Linked DNA regions of Homo sapiens: region 2 is linked to region 1. Evidence: promoter capture Hi-C in 16 types of primary human blood cells and fetal thymus (Javierre and others, 2016). All regions are on one chromosome and are shown on one strand. Each heading gives the region's core, a stretch centred on a gene start or on the middle of the fragment in contact. The rest is flanking DNA. Distances are from core to core; before and after follow the strand shown. Region 1 holds the start of LINC00261 (long intergenic non-protein coding RNA 261). Region 2 has its middle 71 kb from the start of LINC01427.

The links. Contacts are between HindIII fragments. The CHiCAGO score rates a contact against its expected background, and 5 or more counts as called.
Region 2: a fragment that was not itself captured here is called in contact with the fragment with the promoter of LINC00261 in region 1 in 2 of 17 cell types (erythroblasts and naive B cells); the score reaches 5.7 in erythroblasts.

Annotation. Positions count from the first base shown.
Region 1 is chr20:22,575,973-22,582,975 of GRCh38, forward strand. It overlaps LINC00261 (long intergenic non-protein coding RNA 261), which reads right to left and starts at 2,670. Exons shown (of 4, transcript NR_001558.3): 1 at 2,538-2,670. It overlaps FOXA2 (forkhead box A2), which reads right to left. Exons shown (of 2, transcript NM_021784.5): 2 at 5,026-7,003. The coding sequence ends at 5,878. RefSeq lists enhancers at 1,517-2,472, 2,473-3,428, 3,429-4,384, 6,061-6,632, 6,633-7,003. The HindIII fragment of the contact is 8,652 bases long and covers 1,374-7,003 here.
Region 2 is chr20:22,350,019-22,357,021 of GRCh38, forward strand. No RefSeq gene overlaps it. Among named protein-coding and RNA genes, the nearest start is that of LINC01427, 71 kb to the left of the region's middle. The HindIII fragment of the contact is 3,691 bases long and covers 877-4,567 here.

The DNA of each region.
Region 1 (7,003 bases), core at 1,420-3,919:
AAGGTTGAAGATACAGTGCATTGTTTTTGCTCAGAAGGGGAAAGATAAAGATAAGATCCCTAGACCCTTGAGTCTTTATTTACTGTAAAAAGAACATTTGACTGGGAAGGAAAGAGCAAGAAGTGTAATTAAGTCAAGTCGCAAATTTTGGGGATTGATTATTTTTTTCTGTTTGTATGTTTCAAAGTTTTACATTTTACTCGACAACCCCTGGCTGGCCTGGTTGCCATGGTGCTGCCTCCAGGGCTGGTGTCCATGCTGTCCCCCACCCAGTAGGATTTCAGGTCTGAAATCTTGTTCTTTTGCTACAGCAGGGACAGCAAACTGGAGCTAATGGCACTAGGGTGTGCGTGGGGGTGGAGGTGGTCTATTCTGTATGGCAGGACTTGATGCCTACGACTTTGCGGACATAAGCCAGAACGGGCTGCTTGCAACTCCAGGTTCATGGTGTTTGGGAGGAAAATGTTTCCTTTCCTGCGCTCTCTTGCGGGGTGAAGGTGCATAGTCAGAAAAGGCCTTGCTGCTCTTTTGAAACATAACTGGTGTCTGCACATTCCAGATCTCATCTCGGCCACCCCTCCCTCCAAGCCAGGGCCACCTCCAGACCCCCGGATGTGTAGAAGCATGCACTGCCCCGAAGAAAACGCGTTGCCCCCAGGTAACTTCAGGTACCTCCTAGGGCTAACGCCTCCTTCTATGCCATATTGAGCCTTATCTCTTGCTTCTTCCCGCCCCCCTCCCACATTAAAAGGCCCCCAAAGCATTGAGGAGCGGCTTCTCTTTATGAAGCTGGGGAGAAGGCGGGCGATAAAGATTGGGCGTTTAAATTGGCCATTTGGAAGATTACATCTCTTCAGCGAGGGTCTTTCTTTCAAAACTCGCACTGAATTAAGGGTCATGGCTACTCCGTACCCGGCTCTCAAAGGCACGGCACCTTTGAATTAGGTTGCGGAGTGGCCTGGGCGAGGGGACCCGGGGCCATCAAAGGCCCGAGGGAAGGCCGTGGGGCGACACCCGTCTAATGACAAGTAATTGAAGGATTCGACGCCGCGCATTACCAGCGGAACGGGAGGCATTAATTATTTAAAAACGATTAGCCTTGCCGTGTGTCCTGCAGGCGTCCCATCATGTTCAGCGAAGATAACCAGCCACCCGAGGCGAGCCGGGGCTCGGAGGGCGGCGGGCGCGCTCCCCAGCAGGCTTCGGGTGCGGTGGACACGGGCGCACAGCCCAAGGCACCAGGGAAGGAGAGGAGGGGCCACCAAGGGTCCCCACACAGGAAGGTGACTACATAACACTGACCCTGCTGAACAACGAAACAGATTTCTGCCCACTTGGGTTCGAAGTCTGGTGACTGCGGCGCAGATGGGAAAAGCTTTCCGGTCGGGGGTGGTGGGCAATTTCCATGTGCCAGTTCCCTGTCGCATCAGACCAAAGACCCAAAGTAACCCAGCCAGGCACGGGCCTCTCACAGTGCCTGCTACCCAGGCGTTTAAAGAAAAGACCCCAGAGAGAATGTGGATCTGGCGTGGGGGCAGGGATTGGGGGGGGGCGCTGGTAGACACCTGGGGAAATACAACTTTATGAGGTTTCAAGGGGCAGCAGCAGAACTACTATTTTTCCGAGGTCCACGCCTTTCCGCAGGCGGCGGAAAGACGCGGCTGGTTCTGTTGGGTCCTACAAACTCGCGTCCTCCGGAATTCCCGAGGGCAAGCCCGGCACGCGCGAGCGTGCTCCTGCCCGTGGAAGGGGGGAAATCGGCGACTGGGTTGCAGGGAGAATGCGATGATAAATGGCCCTGCGTCTGCTTTCTGACTTTCTCTCCTGGACCCAGCTCGTAACCCCAGAGGCTCCCCAACCTGCCTGCCGCCAAGCACGGCTGTGCGCAAAAGGCCACCAGCCGCTTCCTGCAGCCAGAGCTAAGGTTCACTCGCCTCTTAGAAAGGCGCGGCCCCTCCCCTGCTGCTGCTTGATGACGATCCCCATCGTCTCCTCGGCCTGCCTGTGTCCGAGAAAGAGTTGAGACTGGACTCGAACCCCTGCGCGCCAAGGGGAGGGCGTCACCATGCTCCGGCCTCAGCCTCTTCAAACTCCCATGCACCACGCACATCATTTTCTGCTGACCCCCACACTAGATTCTGGGGCCAAGGGGGTTCCCCACACCCCACCCTCCACTGTTCTCTGGAAACATGCTGCTCTCAGATCGAATCCCCAGACCCGAGCCGCTCGAGGGGCCTGTGTGGCTTCCTCGGGGCCCTACCAAACTCCTCTAACTGAGCTCAGAGCCTAAGCGGTCTGAGTTTGCAACTCTACGACCCCTCATCCTTCCAAGTCATGCACTTTCCGAACCCCCTGCAAAAAAACCCAACGCCTTGAGTCTCAGTTGGCTGAGCTTACCACCAGCCAAGCCCGCCCGGGCGTCCGAGCCCTGGAAGGGAGAAGGACTGGCTGGGGGAGGGGCGGTGAGCGGACAGGAGTGGGGTGCGGACGCTGAGGAGGGGAGCCGGGCGCGGTCCCCGGGTGGGCGCGCTCCCTACCTGCGGCGGCCGGCGGGCCGGCTGGCGGGCGGGCTGCGGAGCGTCCAGCTCGCGGAGGGAGGAGGCCGACTGCTCCGAGCCGAGGCATCCCCGCATTTATTTGAGCTCAAACCAAGCGACTGTTGACTTTAGCACACAAAGCAAAGATTTCACTGCCCGCTAGTTTAAAAATGAATATTTTACCAAGATATCGATCAGCGTTATAAAATTCAGTTAAGTACAATGGGATCCTGGCAAAAAAAAAAAAAAAAGAATAATAAAGGAGGGGGGAGGCAATATAATATCTGTGCAAATTTGCTGAAGTGTGACGTGGCATGGAAAGTTTACCCTCCTGGAATTCGGATCTAGAATGTTTTTTTCGGTTGTTTACAGACTTTGTTTATTCACAGATCATGGTTGCTTAAACCGGCGCGCGGAAAGCGTGGGGAAAAAAGGAAAAAAAGGAGGGGGGAGAGTCTCTGCACCCCACAATGAGTAGAGTTGGGGAAAGCGCGCAGTGGCGATTTGTGAGCTCGTTATCTCGGAACCCGGGCTAGGGGAGGGATTTAAGCGGGAGGGGGGCGTGAAAGACACAAGAAGCACAGAAAAGCCTCCGAAAGCGCCTGCTCCCCGACATCCTTTTTATGTATTCGGACAGAACTATATCTTATCGGCCGGGATCAGTGAAGGGGGGCGCGCTAAGTAGTTTAAAACGACCCTCGCACAATGGGCGTGCCATACGAAACATAGCAGGTTAGGGCAGCGCTTTCAGCCTCCATTGTCCCCCACTCGGCCCCCGGCCCTGCCTCTCGGCTCCTTCGCCACGGGAGCCTTTTATGTGATAATGAAACACATTTCAGGCCGGGCTCACGACGTGTGTGTCCTTGCTAGGAGGAGAGACGGCCTGATTGCTGGCTGTGGCCTCCGGATCCCCCCCTCCCCAATTTCTCTTCCTTGTGTTCTTCGGGACAATGTGGCATGTTAAGAAAGGGATTTGGTGGCGGGAGGGGGGCAGTGGCGGGTGGGAGGCGGAGGCGATGCCAAACCCCCCTCAAGCGCGTGGGAAGGCCAGGCTTGTTGGGGAAGGCGGCGGGGTGGGGGATGGGGTGGCAGAGACCCCAGCAAGGTAGCACTCAAAGACAGTCTCCAGGTCTGGGGCGTAGCTGGAACACTCCAGGTTAGGATGGTCAAGAAGCCCAAAGATCTAATCTTGAAAAAAGGAGCCTGAGCTTAGAAACCTGAGGCAAAAAGTCCTAGCCTCCAGGCTTTCGGAGTGTTTTTACCCACCGCAAGCCACTGCGCGCGGGAGTGGCTCCCAAGTCTGCCTGACCCGCGACGACACTGATCCTGCCCTCGCCCAGCCAGCAGATGTCCTGGGCAAAACCAACACCAGACTCCCCTTTGCGCTGTCGGCCTTGGTTTTCACTGCCGTTGGCCGTCCTTTTAGGCCAGCGAGGTCGTCTGGGGGGAGAGGCAGCATGGTGTATAAGAATTCACTCTGGGATTTTTCGTTATACTTTTAGAGTCCTTGAAGGCTCACAAAATACCTGCATAACCCCTGGACCCTGCAAACCTGGATTGCCAACCTCACCTAACTTACAAGAAGATTTGCAAGAGCCTTGAGTTTTGGAGGGAGATGGGGAGCAAATTTGCCGACAGTGGCATCTTCACTACTGTCATGGTCCATTGGCCAGACACCCCTTACCTCCTCCTCACTCCCAAATATACCCTATTTTTAAAAAACAGACTTGGATTGTTACCCTGACTTACCCTTTCAAACCAATTCCAGGAGAAGATCTTCTAAATGTTTCCCTACACCAAGTGTCTCGCCATTTCTGGGTTAGTAAGGTCTTTCTGGGTTAGAAAGGTCTGCCATGGTTGTGCACAATACCTGCTCCAGGGAGAAGGGTGGGAAAGGGTGGCACCCTGTGTACAGAGGAGGCTGGAAGATCCAGGCAGAGTCCCAATTCCACCACTGTTCACAGTGGTGAACAGGCAAAGTGCTGCACCACAAATTTGCAAGTTTGATCCAGGCTCATTGACCTGAAGGGAGGCCCAAGATCAGAAGTACAGCAAAAACATGTGAAATTGAGGCTTCCCCCAAGAGAAGCAAGCTGTGGGGCCCAAGAGACCACAACAACAGGGCACATTCAAACAGCCAAGGTGGAAAATTGTGATATGTGGAGAGTGATCTTCTACTGGCTTTAAAAATAAACCTGCTGGAATGGTCTTCCTGGGATCTGTGTATTTCATTGTGTGTAAAGTTAACCCCCAAATTCAAAAAGTAACCATAAACCATACAAGTTCCATTTAATAATGTGCTTGCTTTAGTGTTTAGGGGGATGTGTACTGGTATCTGCAAATTTGAAGTGGATTTAGAGAAATAAGATGGATTGACCAGTGGAGGTGAAGATAGATGGACAAGTATGTGATAAAGCAAGTATAATGAAATGTTAATTGCAGAATCTCGGGAGCAGGTCCCTGTGTGCCTACTGTAAAATTCATTCAATTTTGGTATGTCTGAAAATTTTATTAATAAAATGTTGGGAAAACAGCAACACTCCCTGGGCCAAAATAAAATACAACCTGCAACCAGACAGGGTATCCCTCCCTCCTTCTTGAAATAATTTCCAAGCCTGTATATTTTGTAAGCCAAGTAAAGAAAAGAAAAATCTGGAAGAAAAGATTCAAGGGATAAAACCGGGTATAACACTTTAATATAGATTTGTGGAACTCTGGCCCTTGCAGCCAGAATACACATTTATAAGCCATAAATAAAGCACGCAGAAACCATAAATTAATCGGACCCGAGACCTGGATTTCACCGTGTCAAGATTGGGAATGCTTTTTTTTTCTTTTTCTTGGTCATTTACAACAGACCCTTACATTATTTTTTTTCCTGTTTTTAAACAATAGTACAACCCTCTGGTTCTGTTAAAACTACATGGTTTTACACCGAGTCACTCACAAAATTTTTTTTTTTTTTTAAGTAAGACTTCCCTGCAACAACAGCAATGGAGGAGAACAACAACAACAAAAAAATCAGAATCTGCAGGTGCTTGAAGAAGCAGGAGTCTACACAGTAGTGGAAACCGGAGGCTTTTTTTTAACTTTATATTCTTTCCCGTTTTCCTCCTTATATAGAACGTGGGGTATCTGTGTGGCCCTCTGTTTGGGACGGAACGGCTGCAGCGGGTGAAGAAGACTGCTGTCTTGGGGGTGTTGGGGTGGGGGTGTTATGGATTTCTTCTCCCTTGCGTCTCTGCAACACCGTCTCCCCAAAGTCTCGACCCCCACTTGCTCTCTCACTTGTCCTCGATCCGGGGTGCCAGAGTTAGCCGGGCCTGAAGCCGTCGTCTTCTTAAGAGGAGTTCATAATGGGCCGGGAGTACACCCCCTGGTAGTAGGAGGTATCTGCGGCCAGGGGCGAGGCGTCCAGGCCCGTTTTGTTCGTGACCGGGCCCATGGCCAAGCTGCCAGGCATGGGGGAACCGTAGCCGGGGTAGTGCATCACCTGTTCGTAGGCCTTGAGGTCCATTTTGTGGGGTTGGTGGTGGTGGTGGCTGTGGTGGTGCTGCTGCTCCGAGGACATGAGGTTGTTGATGGAGAACGGGTGGTTGAAGGCGTAGTGGTGTTCCGGCTTCAGGTGGGCCTCAGGCGGCAGGCCCGGGTGGTGGGGCGGGCCCAGCAGGTGGGCCGCGGCCTGCTGCTGCTGCCCGGGAGAGGGCGCCGGCTCTGGGGGGCTCAGCGCCGCAGCCGGCGTCCCCTTCAGCTCTCCCAGGCCCCCTCGCTTGTGCTCCTGGCACGGGGAGGCGCTCGAGTGAGGCGACTCGGTGCCCGCCGGAGTCTCGGAGGCCGGCCCGGCGGCCTCCCCGAGTTGAGCCTGTGAGGCCTGGGCTCCGGCGGCCGCCTTCTTGCCGCTGCCGGCGGCGCCTGCGGCCTCCTTCAGCGCCAGCTGCTTCTCGCACTTGAAGCGCTTCTGGCGGCGCAGGTAGCAGCCGTTCTCGAACATGTTGCCCGAGTCAGGGTGCAGGGTCCAGAAGGAGCCCTTGCCGGGCTTGTCGGGCGAGCGGGGCACCTTCAGGAAACAGTCGTTGAAGGAGAGCGAGTGGCGGATGGAGTTCTGCCAGCGCTGCTGGTTCTGCCGGTAGAAGGGGAAGAGGTCCATGATCCACTGGTAGATCTCGCTCAGCGTCAGCATCTTGTTGGGGCTCTGCTGGATGGCCATGGTGATGAGCGAGATGTACGAGTAGGGCGGCTTTGCGTGCGTGTAGCTGCGCCTGTAGGTCTTGGGGTCGCGGGCGCGGCTCAGGCCCGCCTGCCCGTACATGGGGCTCATGGAGTTCATGTTGGCGTAGGGGGCCAGGCCGCCCATGGCCCCGGCCGCCTGCCCCCCGAGCGGGCTCAGGCTGGGACTCAAGTGCGGCCCCATGCCCGCCACGCCGGCCGCCCCGGCCGAGCCGCCCATGCCCGCCATGGCGCCCGCG
Region 2 (7,003 bases), core at 1,472-3,971, 230 kb before region 1:
GGAGTGGAAATCAGGCTGTACCCTGAGTGTTGGCTTGGGCTGGCAACGGATTGCCCACTCACTAGGAGCTGGGCTTCCCAAGGAAGGGACAAGCACAAGGAAACCTTCTTTTCCTCTGCAGAGAAGGAAGCTGGGCACCTAAGCGGTTTCATGATTCCATGACTGGCTCATTGAGAATTTATTGGATGGATTTCACTCATAAAGTTTCTTTTATGGAATTCTAAGGGATTTGCTGGAAGAGATTTCTATGTGAAGGTCAAAAGGAGTAAATTATTTAGCTTCCAGAAGAGGCAGTGGTTACTATTCACAGACTGAACAGCGACAGGGAGAACTTTTTTCTGTAAACTCCATGAGGGGAGGGATAAAGACTCCGTTGCTCACCCTTGCCTCTCCATCCTATGGTTCAGAGCCATGAAGAGCAGACACTGCTGAATATGGGGGAGCTGTTTTTCACCATTCAGCGATATTTCTGCCTCTTTGCATAGCCAGTGAAATGGCTGGGCTGTTGACTGAAAGGATGGATGAACATTGCAAATCTTATCATTTCTATTCCTTGTATCCTCAGAAAAGAAGTGTTGTCCAATGACGAATGCTTGGTCTTAGAGTCTGGCCAGAACACAGAGGAAGAGGCCGCTCGGAGGACAGAGTGAGCTGCCCAGGTGGCCCACTGGCATCAGGGGCTGTTCTGTATGAAGCTGTTTGAAAACTTTTCACAAGGTCCTGCTCCTTCAGAAGAGGGTGCATATGATCTTATCTGCCCATAAATCTCAGAAGTTTTACAGGCAAAATCTATAGTAGGTGGTTAACTCTACACATTGCCCTGCCCACTCACAGGGATAAATAGAAAGTCCTGTATCCAAGTCGGGGAAAATACTAAGCTTCAATCCGGAAGTTTAGGGCTAGTTCTTTTAACTAAGTTGTTCTTTGTTCTTCAAAATCTACAATCTATTTTTAACTGAAGTTAAAATATATTTTAGGTATTCAAGATTAGAAGGTATCTAAACTTTGAGCTTTTGATTTCCATTTAACTGTTTGCTTTCCACAAACATGTGATGACATGATTATGCTGTAGAATCCAGCTATTTCTTAGTTCTTCTCTAAAATGCTATAAATTTGTGTTTCTTCACTGAATTGTCCCCATTTTGTATTAGACGTGTATTCTATGAGAGAAAAATTCATAAAGGCAAATATTTGCCATTTTCTTTTTTATAATACTTTTTCTATATCATTTATTTTTTTATTCTTTTAGCTAAAGGAAGTAAACACCGTTTCATTTTATATCTACAATTATCTTATTTTTCAAATAGAATATAAGGATTTTTAAAAATACTACTGAATCTGATTAGTAACTGTATAACGTATTTTCTGTATATTTTGACTGTGAGTCAATTTGAAAGCAGCAATTTAAAACCCACTTGAATGCTTAGTTTAGCCTAAACAACGACTACAACATAAGAACAATTCTACAATCAAATTAGTAGTCAAATAACCAACGGCAAGTGGAAAATTGGTCATCGTGTTATTCTTCTATAACCTAATTCAAAATGCAACATTTAAAAATGTAAATCTCTCTTTTCAATGTTAAAGAAGCATCGATGAATATTTCTATGAGTAGGAAAATATTTATTAAAATAGTGGCCACATATTGGGACTGATCTTAGTCTTTTAACCGTCAACTCTTGGAAGAGACATCTGGGCCGGTTGGAGCCCAGGGGCAATGGAAAATAGAATGCGAAATACCAGCCATCTGTGATTGGCCCTTACAAAGAGGAGGAAACATAGTCCCAATGCCATCCACTTACAGACCTAGAGAAGAAAGTCATTGATCAAGTATTTCATTGGAGAAAAGTTGTCACAAATATGTTGATTAATGGAGACTAATTTATTTGATATGGAAGTTTGTTTTTCCCCCCTTTTTTGATGATGTTCGTCTTGATGAAGTTCTAGCTGTTCATTTTTAATGAGAAATGGTTAAAAGTTAAACTAACTTGTCTTACGTCTCCTCACATTTTTTTTCTGTCTACCTTCACTTCTTCAATTCTATGCAGTCTTAACTGAGCCAATTTGTACATATTTTCCATGGTGATATCAAATCCACAGAAGAATTAATAACTATGGAATTTTAGAAGCCTTGCAAAATAGAGCAAGTGAGCTGAGGGTGACCTCTGGAACTTCCATGTAAGGCTTAACTTGGGCTCATGGCCTGGAATGAACCAGCTCATAATGTGACACTTTTATAACCTAATAAACATGACTCCTAGGAACAAGTTCCAATCACATCAAACAAAAAGCTGTATATGGGGTTTCGGAAGTCCTACTTTCTGATCCCACAACTATCATATCTAAATTTTTAAACTGGACGAGTCACTCGATCTCCATGAGGCAAATCTCCCTTCCCTGTTACATGAGAGTTTAACTCACAGCACCTAGGTCACCTCTAGCACAAAAATATTATGATCCTAAACCTTATTCCTAATTGAGATCTGGATGGAGGGTGTTCCAAATCCACCAAATTCAGGAAATTATGTGAATTTCTTTGTAAAACAGTGAAGTCTGCCTGATTAACTATGATTCTCATTCATTTCCACCATTACCTACTTTGATAGCTAAATTTGTTTGTACCTTGAGAAGTCTTTTTCCACCTAAAGTTCTTTCTCTTGGAGGGCTAGAGAGAAAGTGAGGTCCAGTTCTCTGGGAGTTAAATTCCGTTTACGAAACAGCAATCTCTCTAGGAGTCATACTTCTCAGGACTATTCCATTTTCTCAAAGCACGTATGCACAATTTGAAAATGTCTGAAGTCACAGTTTCGATGGTTGTTTCCACAAGGAGAGCTATGGCCTATGAAATAAATGTCTGAGTCAGATTGGAAGAGAAAATGGAGAATGATGATTGACAAATATACTGATTTTGGAATAACACTTATTCTCTGCCTTCATGTCCAGGTCAATATTAGAATAATAATAATACTTTTCTTCATAATTTTGGAGGTATTAAATGTGCAATGTACGTGAAGACTTAAAAAAGTAAGGTGACAAGAATTCCTAGTTGTTATAATGTAGTCATCCCTCAGCTCAGGTCCTGGGCTACAGTTTTTGCTTAGACACTTTTGGTGACTATAGGAAGCTGCAAGTTCTTTGTGGTATATTTGCAGAATATATTTACAACTTTTGAAACTGGAATTACTTCATGATATCCATCAGTAGACAACCTTGTGAAGTAGATAAGACAGCTATTATAATTTCTGTTTAACAAGTCAAATTTCTATTTAACCAGTTAAATTTCCATTTCACAATGGAGATTCAAAGGGGTTAAGTGACTTGCCTAAAGTCACAGATCTGGTGGCAGTAGGACCAGAGGTAGATTCTAGAATTATGCTTCTCATTAAACCTCTTCTCTCTCATTTTTTGTATTTCTTCGCAAGGGCTTCAAACATCATTTCGTGAGTGTTTGAAGATTGACCTAGGGTCTTCATGATTACTCATCAGAGGCCCCTGCTGATCTTTTTACTGAAGTTTATATAAGAGAGAAATTTTAAAATCATTTCTTATTTACTTTTAAATATATTAGCAGTGACCCTGTGCTATCCAGATGAGTATAGGTGGTTTTCATCTTCATCTTGGGTTGGTTGCTGAACATGCACGTGCCCAGATCTGGAGGCACACTGCAGCATGGCTGGTTAGCTTTCACAAGGCTTCAGCTCAAAGTTCATGCTCCAGCTAAGGGAGCCTTGGTTCTCTCAGTTGGCGCTAAAATTTTGCTTCCCAAATTTGAATGTGCAGATGAATCATCTGGAGATCTTGTAAATTATGACTCAGCATGTCTGGGATGAGGTCTGCAATTCTGTATTTCTAACAAGTCCCAGGTGACATGGATGTCATAGGTCTGAAGACCAAATTTTGAGTTTCATGTTAGATATGTCATTAATCATAGGGATATCACAATTAGTGTTTCTCTGATAAAATAAATGGTGTTCAATAAACATCTAGCATTGCTTGACTGGGGTACAAGAATCTGGCAGGGCTTAGAGCTGAATTCTCTTCCCAATAGACATGAGACCTCATATTCTAGGGAGCTCTGTGTTCAGCTACATAGTATAGAATTCCAGCACCACACAGAATATGTGGAAGGAAGCAGAGGTCTCCTTAGTGAGATATACATATTATTATTGATAATATAATAATAATAATAGCTTCATTTTCTTGAGAACTTGCCAAGTGCTAAGAACATATTAACTCACTTCATTCAGCAGCTGAGACACAGAAAGTCTCAGTACCATGTTATGTGTGACAACCAGCATGAAAGAATAACAAATATATATATATATTGGTCTCTTTCCCCAGTTCCTGACACAAGGCTCCAAAACCCTTATAATTTCCCAGGCAACAGGAGTGCTAGAAGCATCTTTTGTATTAGTATTTGGTCTTTAGCCTGATTCCTGACACAGAGCTCCTAAATCCCTTAGAACTTCCTGCATGCATGATAGGAGCATCTTTTTTTCTAATGAGTTGACTCTTGGTGGACTTCCAGATGGGGGCTGGTCACCAGACAGACTACACCATGCTTAGAAGCTTTGAAGTTTCAGCTTCATTTCCCATTCTCCATGAAGGGGAGAGGAGTTAAAGATTGAGTTAATAATCATACTTATGTGATGAAGCCTCCATAAAAATCCCTGTAAGACTGGATCCATGTACCAGTAGGGTGGCATACCCCAACTCCACAGTGACAGAAACTCTTGTACTTGAGACCCTTTGGACCTTGCCTTATGTACCTTTTTATCTGGTTATTCATCTGTATCCTTTATCAGATCCTTTACTTTATTACGTAATAAACCAGTAAGGGTAAGTGTTTCCCTGAGTTCTGTGAGCCATTCTAGCAAATGATTGAACATGAGAATTGGGTTGTGGAAGCCTCTGATTTGTAGCTCAGTCAGACAGAAGTTGTGAGTAACCTGAAAACCCACCACTTGTGATTGGCAGGCAGTCTTGTGGGCCTGAGCCCTTAAACTGTGGAGTCTGTGCTAACTCCAGGTAGTTAATGTCAGAAGTTATAGTGCTGAAAGATAAAAGTGTCAACCAAGAATTCTATACCTGGAAAAACTGTCCTCCAAAAATGAGAGGGGGATTAAGATAGCCCAAATTAACAAAAGCTGAGGGAGTTTGCTACGACTAGACCCATTGCACAACAAATGCTAAAGAGAGTCTTTCAGGTTGAAATGAAAAAACAGTAGGTAGTAACAGAAAAGCATATGAAAATATAAATATCTCCACTAAAGTAAATACATGGACAAATATAATAACCAGTATTATCGTAATGTTGTTTATAACCCCATGCTTTATTTCCTGCAAGATTTAAAAGACAAATGAACCAGAATAATTATAAATGTATGTTAATGGGCAGCCAATATATAAAGATGTAATTTATGACATTCATAACATAAATTAATGTTGTTAATTGATCTGTGAATGGGTACAGTTTTTTTTAATTCAATTGAAATTAAGTAGGCATAAATTTAACACAGATTATTATAACTTTAAGATGTTAAGTGTAATCCATATTATGACTACAAGGAAAATATCTATAAAATATAGACAAAAAGAAATGAAGAGAAAATCAAAACATGCCACCACAGAAAAATAACAAAGAAACTGGATTTAAACTTGACATTTGAACAACTGGACATAATAGACACCTACAAAACACCCGACAATCACAGAATATACATTTTTCTCATCTATACATGGAACATATTTGAAAACCAACTACATGTTTTGTCAAAAAACAAGTCTCAGTAAATTTTAAAAAATGAAATAATACCAAACATGCTCTTGGATGACATTGAAATAAAAACAGAAATCAATATAAGATCTGTCAAAACTACATAATACCTGGAAATTAAACAACTTGAGGATCTTTTGTATTTCTGTATATTGCTCCTGAGTAACTCCTGGGTGAACATTAAATTAAGGCAGAAATCAAAATTAATGTTGAAATTAACAAAAATAGAAACACAACTTACCAAAATCTCTGGGTAGCAGCTTACACAGTATTAAAGGTAAGTTTATAGTCCTAAAGACCTTCATCAAGAAGTTAGAAAAATCTTAAATTAATATCTGACTTTGCACCTAAAGGAACTAGAAAAAAAAATCCAACTCCCAAGCTGGCAAAAGAAAAGACATAACTAAAATTAGAGAAGAACTGAACAAATTGAGATGCAAAAATTAATATAATACAAAAGATTACTGAAACCAAGAGTTGGTTTTTCAAAAAAATAAACAAGATTGATAGACCACTAGTAAGAATAACAAAGAAAAAAAGAGAGAAGACCTAAGTAGTACATTCAGAAATGACGAAAATGACTTTACAATTGATCCCACAGAAATACAAAAGATCCTCGGATAATGCTATGAATAACTCTATGCACACAAATTAGAACATCTAGAAGAAATAGATAAATTCCTGGAAACAGAAAATCTCCCAAGATTGAATCAGGAAGAGATAGAAACCCCAAATAGACCAATATCAAACTATGAAATTAAACCAATAATAAAAACCTACCAACCAAAATAGAAGGACCAGATGTATTCACAGCCAAATTCTACCAGACATATAAAGGAGAACTAGTACCAATGCTACTGAAACTATTCCCAAAAATTAACGAGGAGAGACTCCTCCCTAACTCATTCTATGAAGCCAGAATCAGCCTGATACCAAAATCTGGCAGAGACACACAAAAAAAGGAAACTTCAGGCTAATATCCCTGATGAACAGAGACACAAAAATCCTTAACAAAATACTAACACATTGAATCCAGCAATGTGCAAATAGCCAAATAGTCTTAGGTTGAAGCAAAAGTAATTGCAGTTTTTGCCACAAAACCGCAAATACTTTTGCATCAACCTAATAAATACACCATAATTAAGTAGGCTTTATTCCTTAGATTCAAGGCTGATTCAATCTATGCAAATCAATAAGTGTGATTCGCCATATAAACCATACAAACAG